Regions from separate parts of the Homo sapiens genome. Here region 1 is linked to region 2. Evidence: promoter capture Hi-C in human tissues and cell types (Jung and others, 2019). All regions are on one chromosome and are shown on one strand. The core of a region is centred on a gene start or on the middle of the fragment in contact, and the rest is flanking DNA. Distances in the headings are between cores, read along the strand shown. Region 1 has its middle 50 kb from the start of SH2D6. Region 2 holds the start of SH2D6 (SH2 domain containing 6).

The links. Contacts are between HindIII fragments. The study calls those that stand out against the background at their distance.
Region 1: a fragment that was not itself captured here is called in contact with the fragment with the promoter of SH2D6 in region 2 in 1 of the 25 tissues and cell types used here (liver).

Annotation. Positions count from the first base shown.
Region 1 is chr2:85,464,883-85,472,334 of GRCh38, forward strand. No RefSeq gene overlaps it. Among named protein-coding and RNA genes, the nearest start is that of SH2D6, 50 kb to the left of the region's middle. The HindIII fragment of the contact is 3,746 bases long and covers 3,313-7,058 here.
Region 2 is chr2:85,414,164-85,420,622 of GRCh38, forward strand. SH2D6 (SH2 domain containing 6) reads left to right here and starts at 4,551. Exons shown (of 24, transcript NM_001394463.1): 1 at 4,551-4,767; 2 at 4,866-5,081. It overlaps LOC105374841 (a long non-coding RNA gene), which reads left to right. Exons shown (of 3, transcript XR_940316.3): 2 at 636-807; 3 at 1,931-2,798. It also overlaps a transcript of CAPG not described here. RefSeq lists enhancers at 3,892-4,001, 3,998-4,533, 4,012-4,171, 6,400-6,459. The HindIII fragment of the contact is 13,378 bases long and covers 1-6,459 here.

The DNA of each region.
Region 1 (7,452 bases), core at 3,936-6,435, 51 kb after region 2:
TCAAGCGATTCTACTGCCTCAGCCTCCTGAGTAGCTGGGATTACAGGTGTGCGCCACCATGCCCGGCTAATTTGGGTATTTTTAGTAGAGATGGGGTTTCACCATGTTGGTCAGGCTGGTCTTGAACTCCTGACCTTGTGATCCGCCCGCCTCGGCCTCCCAAAGTGCTGGGATTACAGGCATGAGCCACAGCGCCTGGCCTTCTTTTTTCTTTTTTGAGACAGGGTCTCACTCTGTCATCCAGGCTTCAGTGCAGTCGCATTATCAGGGCTCGCTGCAGCCTCAACCTCCCGGGCTCAGGTGATCCACCCACCTCAGCCCTCTACCTTCCACCCAGTGGCTAGGAGTACAGATGAGTACCGCCATGCTGGCCTAATTTTTAAAGTTTTCTTTGTAGAGATAAGGTCTTGCTATGTTGCCTAGGCTAGTCTCGAACTCCCAGGCTCAAGCGATCCTCTCGCCTCAGACTCCCAAAGTGCTGAGATTACAGGTATGAGCCACCACGCCTAGCCAAAAGTTTTTTGTTTTTTTGGTTTTGTTTTGTTTTTTAAGACAGGCTCTCCCTCTGTTGTTCAGGCTGGAGTGCAGTGGCTCAATATTGGCTCACTACAACCTCGACCTCCTGGGCTCAAGCAATCCTCTCACTTTAGCCACCCAAGTAGTTTGGGACTATAGGCACACACCACCACACCTAGCTAAGCTTGCTTATTTTTTGTAGAGATGAGGTCTCACTGTGTTGCCCAGGCTAGTCTCAAACTCCTGAGCTCAAGAGTAATCCCAAAGTGTTGGGATTACAGGCTCACACCACTGTGCCTAGCCCAAAAGTTTTTAAAAATAAATTTTTTAAAAATAGAAAAAAGTGACCAGGCATGGTGGCTCACACCTGTAATCCCAGCACTTTGGGAGGCTGAGGTGGGAGCATCGTTTGAGCCCAGGAATTTGAGGTTGCAGTGAGCACTCTAGCCTGGGCGGTGACACAGTGAGAACTTGCATAAAACAAACAAACAAACAAAAACAACTAAGACACAAACACCCACATTAGCCTAGGCCTACACAGGGTCAGGATCGTTGATATCCCTGTCTTCCACCTCCACATCCTGTGCCAGGCAATAGGAATTTTTCAGGTCTATTATAATCTTACGGGATCATCATCACATATGCAGTCCATTTTTTATCAAAAACATTGTTATGCAGCACATGACTGTATGTATTAGTCTGTTCTCACATTGCTGTAAAGAAATACCTGAGACTGGGTAATTTATAAAGAAAAGAGGTTTAACTGGCTCCTGGTTCTGCAGGCTGTACAAGAAGCATGGCAGCTTCTGCTTGCCTTCTGGGGAGGTCTCAGGGAGCTTTCAGTCATGGTGGAAGGCGAAGGGGAAGCAGGCATTTTACATTTTACATGGTGGGAGCAAGAGGAAGAGAGAGAAGGGGAAAGGTGCCACAAACTTTTAAACAACCAGATCTCATGATAACTCACTCACTGACTATCACAAGAAGAGCTCTGAGGGAATGGTTCCAAACCATTCATGAGAATTTTGCCCCTATAATCCAATCACCTCCCTCCAGGCCCTACCTCCAACACTGGGAATTACAATTTGACATGGGATTTGTTGGAGACACAGATCCAAATCATATCACTGTACTTCTATCATTTTCATCTTTCATCATCTATACATTCTTTGAAATCATAAAGTATTTACTGGATTCTCTTTTCCACAAAGTAATCCTTATTCTGATGTATGTTTTTCATTTGCTTTTTGCTTATGTGTCTTAGTCCATTTTGTGCTGCTATAAAAGAATACCTAAGACTGGGTAATTTATACAAAGCAAGAAGTTATTGGCTCCTGGTTCTAGTCCAAGAGCATGGTGCTGGCATCTGCTAAGAATTTGATGAGAGTCTTCTTATGGCATCATCCCATGGCAGAAGGTGGAAGGGCAAGAGAGAGCAAGAGAGAGTCGTCAGGAAGGGAACCTAACTTGTCCTTTTATAAGTAGCATATTCCTGAGATAATAGCATTAATTTATTCATGAGAACAGAGCCCTCATGACCTACTCACTTCTTAAAAATCCCACCTCTCAACACTGTTGCATTGGGAATCAAGATCCCAGTACATGAACTTTGGGGGACACATTTAAACTATAGCAGGTGGGGACCACTTATGATCTAGGAGCAAAGTGAAGGAAGGGGCAAAGTGAATGGAAGTTTCACCATTCAGGGAACAAATTTACTTTTTTCCCTGCCATGGTTAACATTTGGTATTTAGCCTTCCAGACAGATACATACATATTTTTTCCTCACAAAATGAGATTACCATATACATGCTATTTTTTTTTTTTTTTTGAGACAGAGTCTCACTCTGTTGCCCAGCCTGGAGTGCAGTGGCACCATCTCGGCTCACTGCAATCTGCGCCTCCCAGGTTCAAGCAATTCTCATGTCTCAGTCTTCTGAGCAGCTGGGATTGCAGGCACACACCACCACACCCAGCTAATTCTTGTATTTTTAGTAGAGATGGGGTTTTGCCATGTTGGCCAGGCTGGTCTCTACCTCCTGACCTCAAGCGATTCACCTGCCTCAGCTTCCCAAAGTGCTGGGATTACAGGCGTGAGTCAGAGTGCCTGGTCTGACATGCTATTTTGTAATCTGCTTTCTTCATGTCATACATGCCATGCATGTTTTTATGTCATCAAATATACTACTCTCACATTATTTAAGTAGCATTCCATTGGCACAATATATCACATTTTGTTTAATCCGATCCCCTATTCATGGACATTTCTGTTGTTTACAGTAATTTATCATTGGAGTCAAACTGCTGCACAATTTTCATTTTCATTTTAATTTTTTTGAGACAGAGTCTCACTCTGTTGCCCAGACTGGAGTGCAGTGGTGCGACCTTGGTTCACCGCAACCTCTGCCTCCCAGGCTCAAGCCATTCTCCTGCCTCAGCCTCCCAAGTAGCTGGGACCACCGGCATGTGGCACCACGCCCAGCTAATTTTTGTATTTTTAGTAGAGATGGGGTTGTACTGTTGGTCAGGCTGGTCTCGAACTCCTGACCTCAAGTGATCTGCACACCTAGGCCTCCCAAAGTGCTGGAATTACAGGCTTGAGCCACCGTGCCCAGCCAGACCTCCTCTTAATCCCTGTGTTTCTAATTCCACATAATTTACTGGCCCCCTTAAGGTCTGTGTCCCCAAGTCAAGAGCCTTTCGGATTTAGTTCCTTCGAGGCCCGAATCCCCAGTTTCCTGCTCAGGCTGGTGGTCACCCTGGCTTTAAGGAGGGGAGGAAGGGGCCTATGATCTAGCAATTCAATATTCAGCTGTTTCCACCCCCACCTTACACACAGTCTCTGGTGCCTTCATGGAGTCTGCAGACGTGTCAAACCATATCTTCCTGCGCTTTGCTACCTTAGTTGCTTCTCTCAGCTACTGATGTTTCCTGACTCACGTGGGTGACGGTGAGGATAGGCCCTTTCTATTCCTTCACTGGCCTTTCAGTAGGGTTTTGGGTGGGGGAGGATAAAAATACCACCTCGTTTAACTGGAAGTTGCATTAATTATACAAAGGTCTTTCTGATCATTGCTCATCTTTGAAAGAGACCAGTTATTGGTTAAAAATTAATCTAGAGAAAGATGAGGCAAGTGACCTGGAACAGACCACAGTTTTCAGCTGACTTTTTTTTTCAAACAACCTATCACCAAATGTGTTTTCTCCTCTGTCTTGGGCCATATCCCTTCTTTTCAGGATGTAGGAGGGCAGTGTAGCAACAGACTCTAAGATAGACTTTCTAATGATTGCTGTTCCCTCAGGCCCTCTCCTCTGGCTCCCTCTCCAGCAGCAGTTTTCTCAGCTGGGAGGCTGAGACATAGATGGTTAACATGGATCTACACATAACTTCTCTGTTAGTTCCACCTCTCCCACTCCCTGCAGCCTGCAGGGTGGAGCTGACTTCTCTGGAGTCATTCCAGCTGCTTGCCTTTTGTGGTTCTAAACAATGGATCGTTAAGTTGGGCCTTCCAGAGCAGTGCCCTTATCTATACGTGGCAGTTTGGAATTGTGCCGCCACCTAGCCTTTGAAGCTAAAGACAGGTACAGGAATGTTCAGCACTGTCTGTAATAGCAAAAAGCTGAAAACATGCAAATGACTGTCACCAGGAGGATGAGTAAATACGTCACATACTCATATCATCGAACACAATTCTTCAGTGAAAATGAGTGAAACTATCACTGCACATGGTAGTAGTTGGGTGTGTGTGTATGTGTGTGTGTGGGGGGGGCAGAGTCTCACTCTGTCCTCCAGGCTGGAGTGCAGTGACGCAATCTCGGCTCACTGTAACAATCGATTCTCCTGCATCAGCCTCCCGAGTAGCTGCGATAACAAGTGCACGCCACCATGCCCGGCTAATTTTTGTATTTTTGGTAGAGATGGAATTTCACCACATTGGCCAGGCTGGTCTTGAACTCCTGATGTCAAGTGATCTGCCTGCCTCGGCCTCTCAAAGTGCTGGGATTACAGGCAGCGTGCCATCACACCCGGCCGCAGTTGAGTCTTAAAAACACAGTTAAGTGAAAAAAGTTAGTCACAGAAGACTATATACTTGACTGAATGATTTCATTTATATAAAATGCAAAAGTTCCCTGGAACTGAAACATATTGTGTGGGAAAATATACACGAAGAATAACACTCAGGAAAAGAAGGGAATTATTATTAAGTCAAATTCAGGATGGTGGTTATCACAGGAGGGAGAGGAAGAGGTGACTGAGGAGGGGCACAAAGCAGTCTTCAAAGTCACCAGTTAAATTCCATTTTCTTTTATTTTGAGACAGGGTGTTGCTATGTTGCTCAAGCTGGCCTTGAACTCCCAGACTTAAGGGATCCTCCCACCTCAGCCTCCCAAGTAGCTGGAACTACAGGAGCACACCACCAAGCCCGGCTTCTATTTTCTTAAAGCTGGTTAATAGGTACATGTTTTCATTTTTGTTATTAGTGAAACTACATACATGTTAAGTATATTCTTTTGTTGGAACAATATTTCAAACTAATAACTGGAGTGATTACTCTCTTTTTTCCTCATCTTTTAAAAGATGGAGTTGTTTCTCTTTTTCATTTTTGGAGAGTTTTAAGGTGAGGAGAAGAGTAAAAAATAAACTACTTTTTTTTTTTTTGAGACAGTGTTTTGTTCTGTCGCCCAAGCTAGAGTGCAGTGGTGTCATCTCAGCTCACTGCAACCTCTGCTTCTCGGGTTCAAGTGATTCTCGTGCCTCAGCCTCCCAGGTAGCTGGGATTATAGGCTCCTGCCACCACGCCCAGCTGATTTTTGTATTTTTAGTAGAGACGGGGTTTCACCATGTTGGCCAGGCTGGTCTTGAACTCCTGACTTCAAGTGATCTGCCCACCTCAGACTCCCAAAGGGCAGGGATTACAGTTGTGAGCCACTGTGCCCGGCATTTTTTGGTTTGCTTGTTTGTTTTTGAAATGGAGTTTTGCTCTTGTCACCCAGGCTGGAGTGCGGTGGCCATGATCTTGGCTCACTGCAACCTCCACGTCCCGGGTTCAAGCGATTCTCCTATCTCAGACTCCCAAGGAGCTGGGATTACAGGTGCCTGCCACCATGCCCGGCTAATTTTTGTATCGTTAGTAGAGACAGGGTTTTGCCATGTTGGCCAGGCTGGTCTCGAACTCCTGATCTCAGGTGATCCGCCCATCTTGGCCTCCCAAAGTGCTGGAATCACAGGTGTGAGCCACCGTGCCCGGCCAAAAAATACTTTTATCACTCCCTCGCTGCAGCTGTCTATGACTTTCTCCAGGGGGTAAATAATTCACATACACAGCCTGTGAAGGCACTGGCATTATGGACCTTGGGTTTCCAAATAACACTGAAGAAAGCGAGTCCATGGAAAACTGATAATCAAGAAGCTTTATTACTTCCAGGATTGCTTATTTTTAAAACCCCTGAAAGGAAAATGGCTTTAATTCAGAAACTGGCTTGTGGAGTGGTGGTGGGGCAGCGGCGAGGCAGGGTTGATACAACGGCAACTGGAGGAAGAAGTTACTGTGAGGGGAGGCCCACCCGCATCCGGTGCCCCAGTGGACTGGTGCCACCTCAGCTGGCATGACACCTGCTAGAGCTGTGGGTATTTCTCCTATTCAGGAGCTCTGGGTCTGTTGATGCCCGCATATGTGAATTGGGCCCCAGGGCTCTATGCCACGGCCTGGAAGAGGCTTCATGTCAGAACTTGATGGATGGGGGTGGGATGGGGGTGGGAGGGAGGTGGGGCAGGCACTATGCCAGGAAAGGTCAACAGAGTCTTGTTGTGCCTGGGAGGGAATTTGGACTTTATCCTGAGACAAATGAGGAACTGTTAAAGGGTTTCAGCCAGGAAAAGGCAGGATAATTTTTTTTTTTTTCTGATAGAGTCTTGCTCGGTCACCCAGGCTGAAGTGCAGTGGTGCAATCGTAGCTCACTGCAGCCTCTGCCTCCTGGGCTCAAGTGATCCTCCAGCCTCAGCTTCTCGAATAGCTGGGACCACAGGTGCATGCCCCCACGTCTGGTTTATTTTTTATTAATATTGTTTTGTAAAGATAGGGTCTCACTGAGTGCCCAGTCTAGTCTCAAACTCCTGGTCTCAAGCAATCCTCCTGCTTCTACCTCCCACAGTACTGGGATTACAGGTATGAGCCACTGCAGCCTGCCCAGGATAAGATTTGACTGAGAAAATACATAATGAAAAAATGCTGGGCACAGTAAAACTTCAGTGACTCATTTAAAGGAAGCTATACTGTATTCATCCCATCAGCAGCTACATAGATTATGACAATGTCCATATGTAGGCAAAAGATATTTTCATTCTACAGACAATACTTAGGACATGTAAGGATTTAGGAACATTTGGCAAAGACTCTGTGCCCTAACCCCCCACTCCCCTAGGACTCAAGACTTACGGGTTAGGCATTGCTGATCCAGTTAATGGCAATGCTAAATTGTTCTTTTTTTTTTTTTTTTTTTTTGAGATGGAGTTTCGCTCTTGTCATCCACCCAGGCTGGAGTGCAGTGGCGCGATCTTGGCTCACTGCAACCTCCACCTCCCGGGTTCAAGCAATTCTCCTGCCTCAGTCTCCGGAGTAGCTGGGATTACAGATGCCTGCCACCACGCCTAGCTAATTTTTTGTATTTTCACCATGTTGGCCAGGCTGGTCTCGAACTTGTGACCTCATGTGATCCACTCTCCTCAGCCTCCCAGAGTGCTGGAATTACAGGTGTGAGCCAGTACCCCCAGCCTGAACTGCTCTTTTTGACAGCAATAAACAAGTTCAGCTTCATCCTTCCTTAGGTTGGTAAGACCGTGTCTCCAACATCAAGGGAAAGCATGCCTTCCTATTTGTTATAAGGGACCCACAACCAAGTTGCCATTTAAATATATGTGAAAAACAAAAGAGGATCTA
Region 2 (6,459 bases), core at 3,301-5,800:
GGAGGGTATAGGGGAAGCTAAGGACAAGCTTACTGTGCTGTAAACTTTGCGAGAGAATTGCAGTGTTCACTTCCATTCAATCGTTAGGCCCCCGGCCTCAATCACCCTGTGAACAGCTACTGTTCTGTGAGAGCCTACTATGTGCTTGGTGCGTCCTCACATCTACTATCATTATTCCTGCTGGAAACATGAAGTCTTTGGGAGGCTCAGAGAGGGTAACTAACTTGTCCAGAGTGTCACATTGCTAGTTCAGTAGCAGAACTAAGATTTTTTTTTTTTTTTTTGAGACAGGGTCTCACTCTGTCGCGGCACCTGGAGTGCGGTGCTGTGATCACAGCTCACTACAGCCTCAACCTCCCAGGCTCAAGCAATCCTCCAGCCTCAGCCTCCTGAGTAGCTGGGACTGCAGGCATATGCCACCACGCCCAGCTAAACTTTTTTTTTTTTTTGGAGAGACTGTGTCTCACTCTATTGCCCAGGTTGGTCTCAAACTCCTGGGCTCAAGTGATCCTCCTGCTTTGGCCTCCCAAAGTGCTGGCATTATAGGCATGAGCCACCGCACCCAACTGCTGAACCAGGATTCTAACCCAGGCTGATCTGACCTGCAACACCTGACCCTTCTCTTCTTTATTCAGAGGAAAACAGGCCAGCAAGCATCTGCACCAGGAGGCCAGGCCTTCTGGAAATGTGTTGGACAGCGATGGGTCCACACTTCCGCCTTGGCTCCTGAATGTGGCATAGCCAACCCATGAGAGATGTCAGTTGACAAAGAGCATGAGGATCAGGCCATGGCCTTGTGACACAGTGGTAAGATCCTTTTGTGGGAGGCAGCTTCGAAAATCCCAACCAGAATGAGTTTCTCTGAAGTCCATGGGTGGGGCCTGGGGTAAGGAAACAATCTTTCTATCTGGGTGACCTCAGACAAGCACACTCCAGCAAGGAGTCCTCGGAAACCACCTCCCGCTGCCTACTATCTGCCTTCCTTTGACCAACTCTGCTCACTCTGCAGACTCAGCTTAAATATCCCTCCTCTGAAACTCCCTCTGCAGTGCTCCCCAGGTATTCTGGACATCAAGCCACTGGGCCACCTGCATCTACACGCCCATGGGAACACTTCTCAGGCACACCCGATAGCAAAAGTGGATTTGGATCCATGGGCAACCTGGCCTGCTTCCAGACAACTAGGCCTCTCCAAGGTTGTGCCCAGGCATAGTCCTTCCAGAGCATTCAGTTTTTGTTTTGTTTTGCTTAGGTCAAATTTATAGTGAAATGCACAAATCATGTGTACATTTAAATCAGTTTTGACAGATGCAACACCCATGTAACCCACATCCCTACCAAGATATAAAACACTTCTATCACACCAGAAAGTTCCCTCCCCACCATGTGCTTCCTCCACCATAATGTTAGCACCTCTAGCCAGGGACCGTGTCAAGTCATCCTTGCAATCCCAGCACCCTGCATAGCGCCCAGCAGGTAATAGGCACTCAAAAAAATTTTTACTGAATGCATTAACAGATTAGACAGCAAAACCCCCACATTCTAATACTGCCCAGATTCTGTTGCCTCGGGATAATCCCTTAAGACTTCCTAGCCACAGATTCCTCATCTGTGAAACGAGAACAGAAGCCCCAGTCCTCCTACCTTGGAAGGTTGTGAGGATTCAATGAAAGGCTGCTTTTTTTCTTTTTTCTTTTTTTTTAAGAGACAGGGTCTCACTCTGTCACCTAGGCTCTGGAGTGCAGTGGCATGATCATAGCTCCCTGCAGCCTTGAACTCCTGAGCTCAAGTGATCCTCCTTCCTCGGCCTCCCAAAGTGCTGGGATTACAGGAGTGAGCCACTGTGCCCAGCCGGGAGGATCCGCAAAAAGAATGAAGGCCTGGACAATGCAAGATACCATCACCATTATTAATAAACTCCTACTTCTAGGATGAACACCTGGCTGAAGAAACCCAGGAGAGAGAAGCACTGGACACTGGCTTCTGGGCTTAGCTGCTTGGACTCTGGCCAAGGTCTGGGGATGTCCAGGACAATCAGCTTTCTGCTTCTGTGCCCATAAACTCGGGGTATGGACTCATTTCCAGTGCTGAGAAGTTCTGAAATTGCAAAAGATTCTTCCTAGCAAGTTCTCGACCTGTCTTCTAACTACCCTGCCATGTGGCCCTCTCTGGGCCTCAGTTTCCCATCTGTGAATGAAAGCACTAGACTCGAAGGGTCCCTTCTGGCTCCTCTAACTCCAACCGAGAGGCACAGCTCAGGCTGAGCAGTTGCATTTCCTCATCACGGGGGACTGACAGGGATCTTTTGCAATGCTCAATTCTAACATCAAAATTCCCCCAAATATTCCTTTTTTTTTCTTTTTTCGAGACAGAGTCTCACTCTTGTCGCCCAAGCTGGAGTGCAATGGCACAATCTCAGCTCACTGCAACCTTCCCCCCCGCCGGTTCAAGTGATTCTCCTGCCTCAGCCTCCCGAATATCTGGGACTACAGGCGCACGCCACTATGCCAGCTAATTTTTTTGTATTTTTAGTAGAGACAGGGTTTCATCATTTCGGCCAGGCTAGTCTCGAACTCCTGACCTCAGGTGATCTGCCTGCCTCGGCCTCCCAAAGTGTTGGGATTACAGGTGTGAGCCACCTCACCGGCCCCAAATATTTATTTGAAGACATTGATTCAGGATGCTTCTAGCCATTAAATTTGATTTGCAAATGAATTTTTCTGGATCACCTCACAGGCCCTGGGGAATGGCCAGGGGTCTGGGTGGCCATATTTTCCGAATAAAGCTCAAAACCAAAACTTTGGTTTTGCCTTTTCTTAAATCACTGCTAGGTGCTCAGGGGCAACCAGAACAGTGACATGCTGGAATTCCTTGTGACTTCTTGGGAAAGTGGGACTGTCCAGTACAGCATGAGTGGCCTGGGGAGGGCACCAGGTGCCTGGGATGGGGGGACTAGTCCCCCAGAAGACAAGTTTACCCCTGTACAGCCAGCGTCACACTGGGTACTCAACACCATAACAGCTAACACTATTGTGTGCTGCCACTATATGCCAGGTGCTATCCTTGATATGATTTTCTCATTTAATCCTTGCATTTACTCTCTAACATGGATCCTCTTATTATCCTCCTTTGACAGATGAGGAAACAGAGATAAAGAGAGATAAAGTAGGTCAAAATCACTTGTTCTAGGTCCCACTTAGTAAGCGGCAGAGGATAGATGGGAGCCATGTAGTGGGAGTCCATGCCCTCCCCACTATCACCGCATGCTAGTGCCAGTTGTGAGTCCTTTCACATGCAAACAGCTATCTCAGCTCTTTTTTTTTTTTTTTTTTTTTTTGAGACAGAGTCTGGCTCTGTTGCCCAGGCTGGAGTGCAGTGGCACCATCTCGGCTCACTGCAAACTCCGCCTCCTGAGTTCAAGCAATTCTCCTGCCTCAGCCTCCCGAGTAGCTGGGATTACAGGCACGTGCCACCACGCCCGGGTAATTTTTTCTATTTTTAGTAGAGATGGGGTTTCGACATGTTGGCCAGGCTGGTCTTGAACCCCTGACCTCAGGTGATCTGCTTGCCTCAGCCTCCCAAAATGCTAGGATTACAGGCGTGAGCCACTGCGCCCGGCCATACCCTCCCTTTTGAGGTGAGGCTCTTGAAGGCCCAGACCTTTCCTCCAGTGCTTTGAGGTCTGATCCTGATGATAATAACACCTCACTCATAACCTGGACTTCACAGTTTACAAAACACCCCTCCTCCTCACCCCCTCCCAAACTCGGTTTATTTTTGTCGTTAAAGCAGAGTTGTAGGCCAGGGTGGACCATAGGTTTTCTTGGTCACGAGAGACTTCCTCCCTCCCTGGGCTCCCCTCTGTAGTGGTGCCAAATAAAAATCTGATCAGTCAAGCCTGTAAGGTAACTAGCGCTAATGTGCAGAGCCAGTCCTGGGCAGGCCTGTTCATTATTTTGCACACTCTTACACCGAAAGGGCCCAGGACCCTCGCCTGACCCAGCCTTGCCTGCCAGGCCTGGGCTGGGTCTCCCAGCCCAAATTCTCACAAGAGGGCCGACTCCGGCCAGAGCGCGCCCCTCTTTGTGCCTCGGTTTGCCCACCTAGAGGTCAGTCCCGCAGGCGTGGCGGGTACATCTCAGGGTCGGCAGAAAGTGCCACCGGGAGCCCAGCCGGAGTTGAGGGCCTCGCGCCGGGCCCACTGTCCAGATCCAGGGCTCACGAGAAAAACGAGGACGCAGGAGAGCCACACGCCAGGACGCGTGTAAGGCCCCAACCCGGCCCCAGCCTGGGCCCTAGACCCCTAAGAACTACAAATCCCAGCAGGCAGTGGGCCGCGGGGCGGGGTCTCGGAAGCTGCGGCCTGTGGTGCCTTTGCTGAGCCCAGGTCCGGAGGGCCCTCGGGGACGGGAGCACCACAACAGACCCCCGGACACACTTACACACACAGTCTCACAAACACACAGTCACACACGCACACACACACACGCGCGCGCGCGCGCCTTTTGGCCCCTCCCCTACAAACTACAAATCCCGGCAGGCAGCGGGCCGTTGGGCGGGGCCTTGGGTGCTGATCCGGACGCAAAGATTGCGCCAGCCAGGGTGGGATCCCGGTAGCTAGGTGGGGGCTACCCTGCTGGGGAAGAGATGGCCTTCTCTCCTCGCAAACCCAGCTCCCCACCCCTGCACGCGCCCCTCTGCCCTGGAGTCGCTGGTCCGAGCCCTCCTTCTCTGCGAACCTGAGCCCCGCCCTGCCCTCCCTACGAGGTTGGGGCCGTGGGAGATGAAGATGGTGGGTGGGGGGTTGGGCCCACAGCCTGCTAAGCAGGCAGAGTGGCCTCCTGAACCCTTCCTCCATCGCCTAGAGCAAACTCCCATTCCTGGAAGGAGGAGCAGCCCAGACCCTGAGACTGGACTAGGTCTGTTAGGGTCCCTGTGTGGCCGGCAGGACTCGTGGTGAAGCCCGGGGAAGGCCTGGGTCCTCCAGGTCAGGGATGTAGGTCCCAGGGTGTGCAGGCCGCGGTATCTGACCATCGTCGGCGCCCTGCGCCCAGGCATCAATTTTACATGGCAGAGTCAAGGTGAGGTTAGGAGGCTGCCAGGAGGTAATAACCAGGGCGCTCGCATTCAGCATCCTCTCTCTCAAAGCACTCTCCTCACACCTCAGGGTCAAATGTCAGAGCTCTTGTCCTAACTTCCCAGGTTGCCCAAGGAGCTTCTGAGGCGCTACAGAAGGGACTTACCCAGACCCTTCAGTGCAAGCCAGGAACTCAGGGTCCGGCCTGCTCGGTAGGATGAGCTGTGCTGAGGCCCTACTTCATCCACCCTTCTGGGCCAGGGCAGCCTCTTTCCAGAGGCCTCTTCTCAGCTGATTTCTGGCTCCCAAGCGGGAGACTCAGGTTACACCTGTATCGGGAGCAGTGACACCACAGTGGCCAGCAACACATTGGACTTTCTGTCTCCAACTCCATTTTCAGCTTTTACACTTCCTGATCTGGGCATATACTGCTACATACTGGATCATCAAGGAAGGAGGAAAATACCTAGTCAATGAAGGTTTAGCCATGACCTTGTAAGTCAGTGAGATTTCATTCTTGTGTGGTTAGTTCGAGGCGAGCTACTTCCTAGAAATATTTCATTTGATCTCTAAACACCTAGAAACAGCTCCAAAAGGGATATTCAAAGTAGATTGCCCAGATTCTCTTGATAGCAGATGTGGGGTTCATATTAACTGGTCGCGTGGTCTCTAAGCATGCCTATTTCTGCCTGGGAAGTTCTCAAAGGTTTGGTTTTCTGAGTGTTTCTGTTAAAACAATCAGCCTTTTGTTGAGTAGCCCTTTTGCCCCTAGAGAGGAGAGATAGGTACCATAGAAACTTGGAGACAGCTATTGACTCAGTCCCTGGACTCTTTAATAAGAGCCCGTTCTGTTTTGTTTGTTTGTTTGTTTGTTTGTTTCCTGAGACAGAGTCTCGCTCTGTCTCCCAGGCTGGAGTGCAGTGGCGCAATCTCGGTCCACTGCAACCTCTGCCTCCCGGGCTTAAGCGGTTCTCCTGCCTCAGCCTGCCTCAGCCTCAGTAGCTGGGATTATGGGATCACAGGCGCACACTACCACGCCTGGCTAATTTTCGTATTTTTAGTAGAGACGGGGTTTCACCATGTTGGCCAGGCTGGTCTCGAACTCCTGACCTCAGGTGATCAGCCCACCTTGGCCTCCCAAAGTGCCGGGATTACAGGCATGAGCCACCGTGCCCGGACTGAGCCCATTCTCTTATTATTAGAAATCTTATTATCAGAATGTGAGCTTCTGCATTCCAGGGCTTCGCACCAGACCCTCAAGTCAGTAATGACCCTTGGGACATGCAGTGTGCCAAAAGCTGTTGAATGCCCATTCCTGCTCCCTGAAGATCCAACCAGCAATCAGCAGGGTGCAGTTAAAGTCACAGAGCAGTGTTGTTAGG